3 separate regions of the Homo sapiens genome follow, and regions 2 and 3 are each linked to region 1. Evidence: promoter capture Hi-C in human tissues and cell types (Jung and others, 2019). All regions are on one chromosome and are shown on one strand. The core of a region is centred on a gene start or on the middle of the fragment in contact, and the rest is flanking DNA. Distances in the headings are between cores, read along the strand shown. Region 1 holds the start of FITM2 (fat storage inducing transmembrane protein 2). Region 2 has its middle 89 kb from the start of JPH2. Region 3 overlaps LINC01620 (long intergenic non-protein coding RNA 1620).

The links. The method cuts DNA at HindIII sites, captures the fragments that hold promoters and counts their contacts. A contact is called where the count stands out against the background at its distance.
Region 2: a fragment that was not itself captured here is called in contact with the fragment with the promoter of FITM2 in region 1 in 1 of the 25 tissues and cell types used here (aorta).
Region 3: a contact is called between a fragment that was not itself captured here and the fragment with the promoter of FITM2 in region 1, in 4 of the 25 tissues and cell types used here (dorsolateral prefrontal cortex, liver, mesendoderm cells and 1 more).

Annotation. Positions count from the first base shown.
Region 1 is chr20:44,309,837-44,312,532 of GRCh38, forward strand. It overlaps FITM2 (fat storage inducing transmembrane protein 2), which reads right to left and starts at 1,366. Exons shown (of 2, transcript NM_001080472.4): 1 at 1,140-1,366. The coding sequence starts at 1,312. RefSeq lists enhancers at 213-942, 889-978, 943-1,672, 1,269-1,418. The HindIII fragment of the contact is 18,619 bases long and covers 1-2,696 here.
Region 2 is chr20:44,096,705-44,099,400 of GRCh38, forward strand. No RefSeq gene overlaps it. Among named protein-coding and RNA genes, the nearest start is that of JPH2, 89 kb to the right of the region's middle. The HindIII fragment of the contact is 5,022 bases long and covers 1-2,696 here.
Region 3 is chr20:44,455,983-44,458,678 of GRCh38, forward strand. The region is part of intron 2 of LINC01620 (long intergenic non-protein coding RNA 1620); the gene reads right to left. Among named protein-coding and RNA genes, the nearest start is that of LINC01430, 6.8 kb to the left of the region's middle. The HindIII fragment of the contact is 8,304 bases long and covers 1-2,696 here.

The sequences.
Region 1 (2,696 bases), core at 116-2,615:
CGCCTCCCCAGCGTTCACGAAAGGTGGCTGACCTAAACCCAGGACAGAGACTTGGGGCCACTACCACTCTCATGATCTATTCTTAGCCCAGCCTCTCAGGGTGGGTGAGGAAGGAAGGTGGACCAAGGACAGAAGGACTTTTTTCTAGGTTCCAATGGATTCTCAGGCACCACCCCCAGGCCTGTCACTAAAATCTTCACTGGGACTGATAAGGAAGATCTTGCCAGAGCCAAGACCCGTCAGGCATTTGAGGAAGCTGCCTGTGAAAGGAACCAGGGTTTTAAGCAGATAACCAAAGTTGGGCTGACTTTCAGGACACGCCAGAGACACTTATTCTGGAAAACACTTAGGCTCACATCAAGGGAGCAGTTTTATCTTTCAGAGTTTCCCTTTATGACCGCAACAGAGTTTTTGTGCAATAAACTTACTAACCGGGAGTTTTGAAAAAAGCAAGTAAGCAAGCAAAGGAGTGGATGGGTGGAGTTAAGGAGATGTCTCAAAGCGCCCAGCTGGGATTGCTTTTCTGGGCCACTGCCATGCATTCTGAGTGGCTGAGATGATCCAAGGAGATCCAGGGGAAAGGGCACAGACTAGGGGGTTCCAGCCCTCTGTGAGTATCTCACAGGCGGGGGCTCTGCCTGTCACAGGCTGGGGCGAGGCTCTTCCACAGGTCGTAAAGGGATTCTGTCACGCGCTGGAGGGATCTGATCTGACGCAGGGTGGGGTCTGCGCGGGGTCTGCCACAGGCAGGCAGGACAGAGGTGAGATGGCATCTCCCAAACAGGGCAGGGGTCAGCTCCTAACTCCAAGGGGAGGCGGGGGAGTGGTGACAGGGGCTGGTTCATCCCCACCCCATTCCACACCCCTACATATACAGAGACACACACGACCCCGCTTGTCACCACCTGCCCAGTCAAGCTCATGCTGCCCAAAGTGGGTCTGCAAACACTAACTGCTAGTGACACCAGCTACCCCGGGGCCTCCCAGGCGTGACACGCGTGCAGATGCTGCTGTCACGGCTAGGAGGAGGACCTCCCCTCCAATGACTCGTCCACCACGGCAGCTAGCACCGGCTTCTCTGGGCGAGGCGACAGCGGGCCGGCTCGGGCGGGGACAGCGGAGGACCGGGGTGCACTCACACGTTGAGGACGTTGCGCTTGTTGCTGAGGTAGCTCTCGGGCAACGGGGACAACTCCTTGAGGAGGGAGCCCGCCAGCATGGAGGCCACCAGGGCCCAGGGCAGGTAGCGCCGCACGGCCGCCCGCACCAGCGTCCCCCGCAACAACCACTCGCAGCGCTCCAGATGCTCCATGCCGGATCTCGTCAGCCACCGTCCTCCTCTCCGTGCCCTCTCGGCCACCGTATCGCCCTTCGCCCGGACCTGCGCCTCCACCTCCCTTCGAGCGCATGCGCACTGCCCGCGAGTCCCACAGCTTGAGGCGTGCTTGGGCTCCGGAGCCCGCGCGCTCCCCCTCGTGGCCGCTGCTGCCTCTGGCGCGTGACGGTCCCCGAACTCGCTCGTCTCCTCTGCGCTCTCCTGGCCGCCTCCTCTCCCCGAGCCTCCGCGTCTTGCTCTGGTCTGGGAAAAAGCGCTTGTGAAAGTATTTGCTGGAGGCTGGAAGAGGATAAATGTAGCCCTGGAGAATTGGAGCAGTAGTCACAGCATCATTTGATCTTTCTTGGAGCCTCGGAGACACCTCTGCCATCTGAGTCTTAGTTTTCTCATCTGTAAAATGCGAGAGACAAGAGGAGATCAACCTTTCCCAAAAGCTAGTTTATGAGCTCAGGGGTTCATTACGTTGGCACACGTAGAGGGACATGAGATGAAGTTTCCTTAGGAATAATTATTGTATTTATTTATTTATTAGTTAGTTGGGGGGGGGTCCCTCTCTGTCGCCCAGGCTGGAGTGCAATGGCACCGTCGCAGCTCACCGCAACCTCAAATTTCTGGTCTCAAGCAATACTCCCACCTCAGCCTCCCGAGTAGCTGGGACCACAGGCGGGCACCACCACACCTGGCTAATTTTTTTTATTTTTATTTCTGTAGAGACAGGGTTTTGCTTCGTTGTCGAGGCTGGTCTCAAACTCCTGGGCTCAAGCGATCCTCCTGCCTCGGCTTCCTAAAATGCTGCAATTACAAGTGTGAGCCACCACGCTCTGCAGTTATTAAATTAATTAATTAATATAATTAATTTATTTAGAGACATAGTCTCGCTCTGTTGCCCAGGCTGGAATGCAGTGGCGCGATCTCAGCTCACTGCAGGCCTCTGCCTCCCAGGTTCAAGCGATTCTCCTGCCTCAGCCTCCCGAGTAGCTGGGATTACAGGCACGCACCACCACACCCAGCTAATTTTTGTATTTTTAGTAGAGATGGGGTTTCACCATGTCGGCCAGGCTGACCAACTCCTGTCCTCAAGTGATCTGACCTCTCCAAATCTTAACCTCAAGTGATCTGCCAGCCTTCACCTCCCAAAGTGCTGAGATTACAGGAGTGAGCCATCTCACCTGGTGCAATTATTACATTTAAAGTTTAAATTTCTAAATTTATTTTCACCTGGGCAACACAGTGAGACTCAGTATCTATAAGAAATAATTTTAAAAACTAGCTGACTTGGTGGCTCAGGCCTGTGGTCCCAGCTACTCAGGAGGCTGAGGTGGGAGGATTGCTTGAGCCCAGGAATTTGAGGTTGCAGTGA
Region 2 (2,696 bases), core at 89-2,588, 210 kb before region 1:
ATGCGATGGCAAAAGCTCATGTCTCCACCAGGCCTTAAGACCAAGGACTTCCTGGGCTCCCTGAGGGAGTCTGCTCAGTGGATGCTTTTGAATTATCTATACCAGGGACTGGCAAACCTTTTCTGTAAGGGACAGAAAGGAAATATTTTAGGCTTTGCGGGCCACATGGTATCTATCACAACTATTCTGTTACCAGATGGAGGGCCTTGAGTGTGAGTTGTCCGGGTCCTCAGTGTTTTGAACAAAGAATTGGACAAAACACACAAAGTGACAAACGAATGAAACAAAGCAACAAAGCAGTGAAAGCAGGGAATGATATTTTATTTTATTCATTTATTTATTTTTGAGACAGAGTCTCACTCTGTCGCCCAGGCTGGAGTGCAGTGGTGTGATCTTGGCTCACTGCAACCTCTGCCTCCTGGGCTCACGCCATTCTCCGAAAGCGAGATTTATTAAAGTGGAAAGCGCTCCACAGGTGGGAGTGGGCCCAAGCAAGCAGCTCACGGGCCTGGTTACGAAGTTTTCTGGGTTTTAACGACTCCTTTTGAGGGCCCTATCGGCTACAAAAATGAGTACCAAACTCATGTCTTGCTTTATAGAAAATAAAGGATCATCTAGGCTTTGGATCCTGGAGATTTGGGGAACAGGACAGGAGCCGGATGTCAGGTCCACAACTACGCCAAATGTCCTGCTTGGGGTCAGGTTCGGGCCCATACTGAGGTCCAAGGGGAGTGGGCGGATGGGCAGATAGGTGAAAAACACTGGGCGGGTGCCATAGGCAGGTGAAATGTAGTTTTATTCAGCAGCTCTCTCATCAACAGCTCTTACACACTCTTCTCTCATCAGTAGTTTTCTCACACCGTCCGCCCTGTTTTAGCTGCTTGAGTGGGCTGCTCCCATACACCGCTGTGCTGCCGGCTCTCCCTTGCCTTCAGGGTCAGCAGCTTAACTCTTTCTCTGGGCACAAGCTGGTTCCGGGCTCCCCACTGCCCACCTGCAAGACGGACAGCTTTGGCTCTCTCTTCCTCTGGGCACCAGCGCACCCAACCACGTCAAGCCATGCCCAAGAGCCAAGCCCAGCCATGTCCCCAGAGCCCCGTGCAGTGTCAGCAGGGCAGTCATACCTTTTACAGACAATAGTGGCGTAGAGCCAAGTATGAACTTACACAAACAGTTATATAACAAGTGGAGGTGTGAGCCTGCACCCCAACCCTGCTGAGTCATGCAGGCCTGGATGTCTGCCTCGGCCTATTCCTTGACCAAAGCACATCCATGTGAAGGAAATAATGTATACAGTGGTCCATTTCCAAGATAAAGTGCCTTGAATTGGCTTAGGTCAGCAAACTACAGAAGAAACAAGATATACTAGGCCCCTGCTTGGATAGCCGATGCCTGCTTGTCGGCCTCTCCCTTCTCCCCTTCCTCCCTTGCTTAGTTGCCCTCACTCAAACCAAAGACATTTAGTCTAAAATGAAAGTTTACTAGCCTGCAAAATAGCTCACTTTGTCAGTTCTTATCGGCCTGCCCAGCTACTTAGGTCATTAGGTCATAAGACAAATGCTTAAAAAGCCCCTGAGCTAACTAGGATTGCAATACATTGTGGGCTGCAACAAAATGCCACAAGACAACCCTAAAAAAGAACACCTAAAGCCCCTACCCACCATCACTAGGCAAAGTCCGGGAAGAGTGTGACCCCACAGTACTCAGCCTTTGAGGAACCGGTGGAGAGACCTGTGCACTAGAGGATGAATTGCTTGTTGTGACTGCGCTGGGTGTGCCTGCTCATTAGACACCCAGTCTTGCAAGACCGTCATTAAAAGTCTCACTTTCACTATTCTCTGGGTCTCTAAGTCCATTCTTGAGTTCGAACGCATGAATTTGTTCCTCACACATGTACCTTACACTGGATAGGGCTGATTAAAAACAAAATCAAATACACCTTCTAAGCTTCACTTTCCTGCTAGCTCTAGAGTTGGAGTTACTCCATCAAGATTGTGGAAGAGAGTGTGGTAGGAAGAATAATGGCACCGCTGAAGATGTCCATTCTTTATCTGGATGAAGGATTTGGCCCATGGCTAATTAAAGCTGAAGTGAATTGGTCCGCAGTCATCTGGAGACGGAGTGGATCGGCACCCTACGCAGATGGGGGGATGGCTAGCACTTGGCCCACAGCCAATCCAAGGCACTTTCCTTTCCATCTGAGACATGGTGGAAGGTTGTATGGAGAGTAACCTTTGATTCTTTGTTATCCCAGCATGGCAAGATGGAGTTTTTCCTTTTGGCTTAGCTTTTGGAAGTGGGTGTTAATTGGTCTTAGAGTCCCTGCCCCCAGACCCAAGTGTTTCCCTTTTGATCCAGCCTTAGGAAGTCAGCACACATTGGCCTTAAGTTGCCTGGTCCAAACCCTATTCTCCTGCCTCAGTTCAATCTGTCAATATGAAGGTTGAAAATACATCATTAAATGAGCATAGCTGTGGGCCAATAGAACTTTATTCATAACACTGAAATGTGAATTTTACATGATTTTTCACATCATGAACTAGTCTTCCTTTGTTTCCCACCCTAACCATTTAAAACAGTAAAAACCAGCTGGGCATGGTGGCTCATGCCTTTAACCCCAGTACTTTGGGAGGCCAAGGTGGGCGGATCACTTGAGGCCAGGAGTTCGAGACCAGCCTGGCCAACATGGTGAAACC
Region 3 (2,696 bases), core at 113-2,612, 150 kb after region 1:
TGAGGCTCAGAGATGGCAAGGGGCATGACCAAGTCATCCAGTGGGACAGGTCCTGGATGAATCCAGTTTCCGACTCAAGAGTCAATAGAACCTCAGTTACTGAGCACTCATCTGTACTAACTGATGAGGTGAGTATTGTTATTCCTTCCTAAGGCACAGCCAGGAACAGTGGTTCATGCCTATTAATCTCAGAATTTTGGGAGGCCGAGATAGGAGGATTGCTTGTGGCCAGGAGTTCAAGACCAGCCTGGGCAACATAGTAAAACCTCCATCTCTACCAAAAAAGATTTTTCGAATTAGCTGGGCTCGGTGATGCCTGCCTGTAGTCCTAGCTGCTCAGGAGGTTGAGGCAAGAGGAACACTTGAGCCCAGGAGCTCAAGGCTGCAGTGAGCTATGATCAGGCCACTGCACTTCAGCCTGGGCAACAGATCAAGACCATGTATCTTATAAAAAAAAACAAAAAACGGTGGGGGGAGCCGGGCGCGGTAGCTCACACCTATAATCCCAGCACTTTGGGAGGCCTAGGCGGGCAGATCACCTGAGGTCAGGAGTTAGAGACCAGCCTGACAAACATGGAGAAACCCCATTTCTACTAAAAATACAAAATTAGCTGGGCATAGTGGTGCATGCCTATAATCCCAGCTACTCAGGAAGCTGAGGCAGGAGAATCGCTTGAACCCGGGAGGCAGAGTTTGCGGTGAGCCGAGATCGCACCATTGCATTCCTGCCTGGGCAACAAGAGTGAAACTCCGTCTCAAAAACAAAACAAGACAAAACAAAACAAAAGGACCTAAGGCACAGAGAGTTTGAGTGACTTGCCTAAGGTCACACAGCTAAGAAGCAGCCAAGCCTCAGGGCTTTTGTCTACTCTGAATGGCTATTCTCCACCACCCACCCCACCTTGCTGCCAACTCTCTGCTCGGACCCCAGCACGGTCTATGAATTCAAACCCTAACCCTTTCTAGAGCTTTGGGCAAAGCCAGGAAATTCCATGAAACCCCTTCAAGGCCTGGGTTCCAGTTCCCCCAACTCCAAACCAAAAGAGAGCAAAACTAGCCCTCCTTGCAAGGTGGCTGTGAGAAAACAGTGATAAAAATTAATTATAGGACTTGTATGTAATAAAAATAATTGCAGGGCTCCTGGCAAACAGCCCAGCTCTAGAGATACGGACTGATGATAGCAGGCATTTATGGCCCTGCGGCCCAGCCTTTCTGAGGCTGGGGTGATAGGAGCCGGGTCACGAGGTGGGGGTGGTCACAGGCAGGAAACTCCCAGCAGCAAGGCCTGGGCCTGTCTCTGATGCAGCCTGCACATTGGTTTCAGGGACGCTTGGAAGGACACTCCCCTAGCCTCGGGGGGTCACCATTAGTTATCCATCTGGTTGGGTCTGATGTTGCTTGCTGTTTGCCTTTCTAAAAACCTACAAACAAGGCCAGGTGTGGTGGCTCACACCTGCAATCCCAGCACTTTGGGAGGCCAAGGTGGGTGGATCGCTTGAGGTCAAGGGTTCAAGACCAGCCTGGCCGACATGGTGAAACCCCATCTCTACTAAAAATACAAAAATTAGCTGGGCATGGTGGCGGGTGCCTGTAATCCCAGCTACTCAGGAGGCTGAGGCAGGAGAATCACTTGAACCCGGGAGGCGGAGGTTGCAGTGAACCAAGATCGTGCCATTGCACTCCAGCCTGGGCCACAGAGTGAGACTCTGTCTCAAAATAAATAAATATAAAAACCTGTAAATAATGAGCACTTTACAGTGACTTCATTCATTCGTTAATTCTCAAGGCCCCAAGGATAGGCAGGGAGCAGATATTGGTGGTGGTGGAGGTGGAGCAAGGCCCAGAGGAGACAGTGGTTCATTCTTCCTCTATCCAATGGATATTTATTAAGGGCCACTCCATGCCAGGTGCCTCGCTGTTGGAAGGTAGTGACAGGGACACCAGGGACTTGCCCAGGATCACAGTGGGTGGGAGAAAGTCAGGGCTGGCCCCTGGGTCCTCAACACCAAGGACAGTAGTCTCATTGCCACAAAAAGAGACCGGAGTGGTTTGTCCCTTTGGAAAAATGACTCCCTCTTAGGATTCTAGCCTTCCCTGCAGGCATTCATAGTTAATTCTTAAAGACATCAAAAACCCATATTAGAACTCCAGTAATTTTTTTAATGAAAACGGAACCTACTTATCACAAAAGCTCAACCAATAAAGAGAAGTACAAATAAGAAAGTTCAAAATGTGGAAATTTTACTACCCAGAGAAAAATGCTCTTAGCAGAGGTAGCAGAGCTAAGTGGTCAAGAGCACAGACTCAGACCAAAGTGCCCAGGGCCACGTGCTGGCTTGCAACCTAACCATGCTAGAGTGTAGCCTCTCTGCTGCCTATTTCTTTACCTGCAAATCTGTATAATGGCAGCACCTGTCACACATAGGGTATTAAATGTTAGGAGCATGAAACAAGCTAACCATTTGTGGAGTGCTTAGCACAGCACTCAACACAGAATAAGTGCTATTTAAAGGGTTGTTCAGTGTATCCCCAGACGGGGCTCCATGCAGACATACCACACCTGCTTATGGTCTTAGGACCTGATTTTATATATGTATATACACATATATATGTATATATACGTATATATATATGTGTGTGTGTGTGTGTGTGTGTATACACACATATATACATATATGTATACACACATTTATACA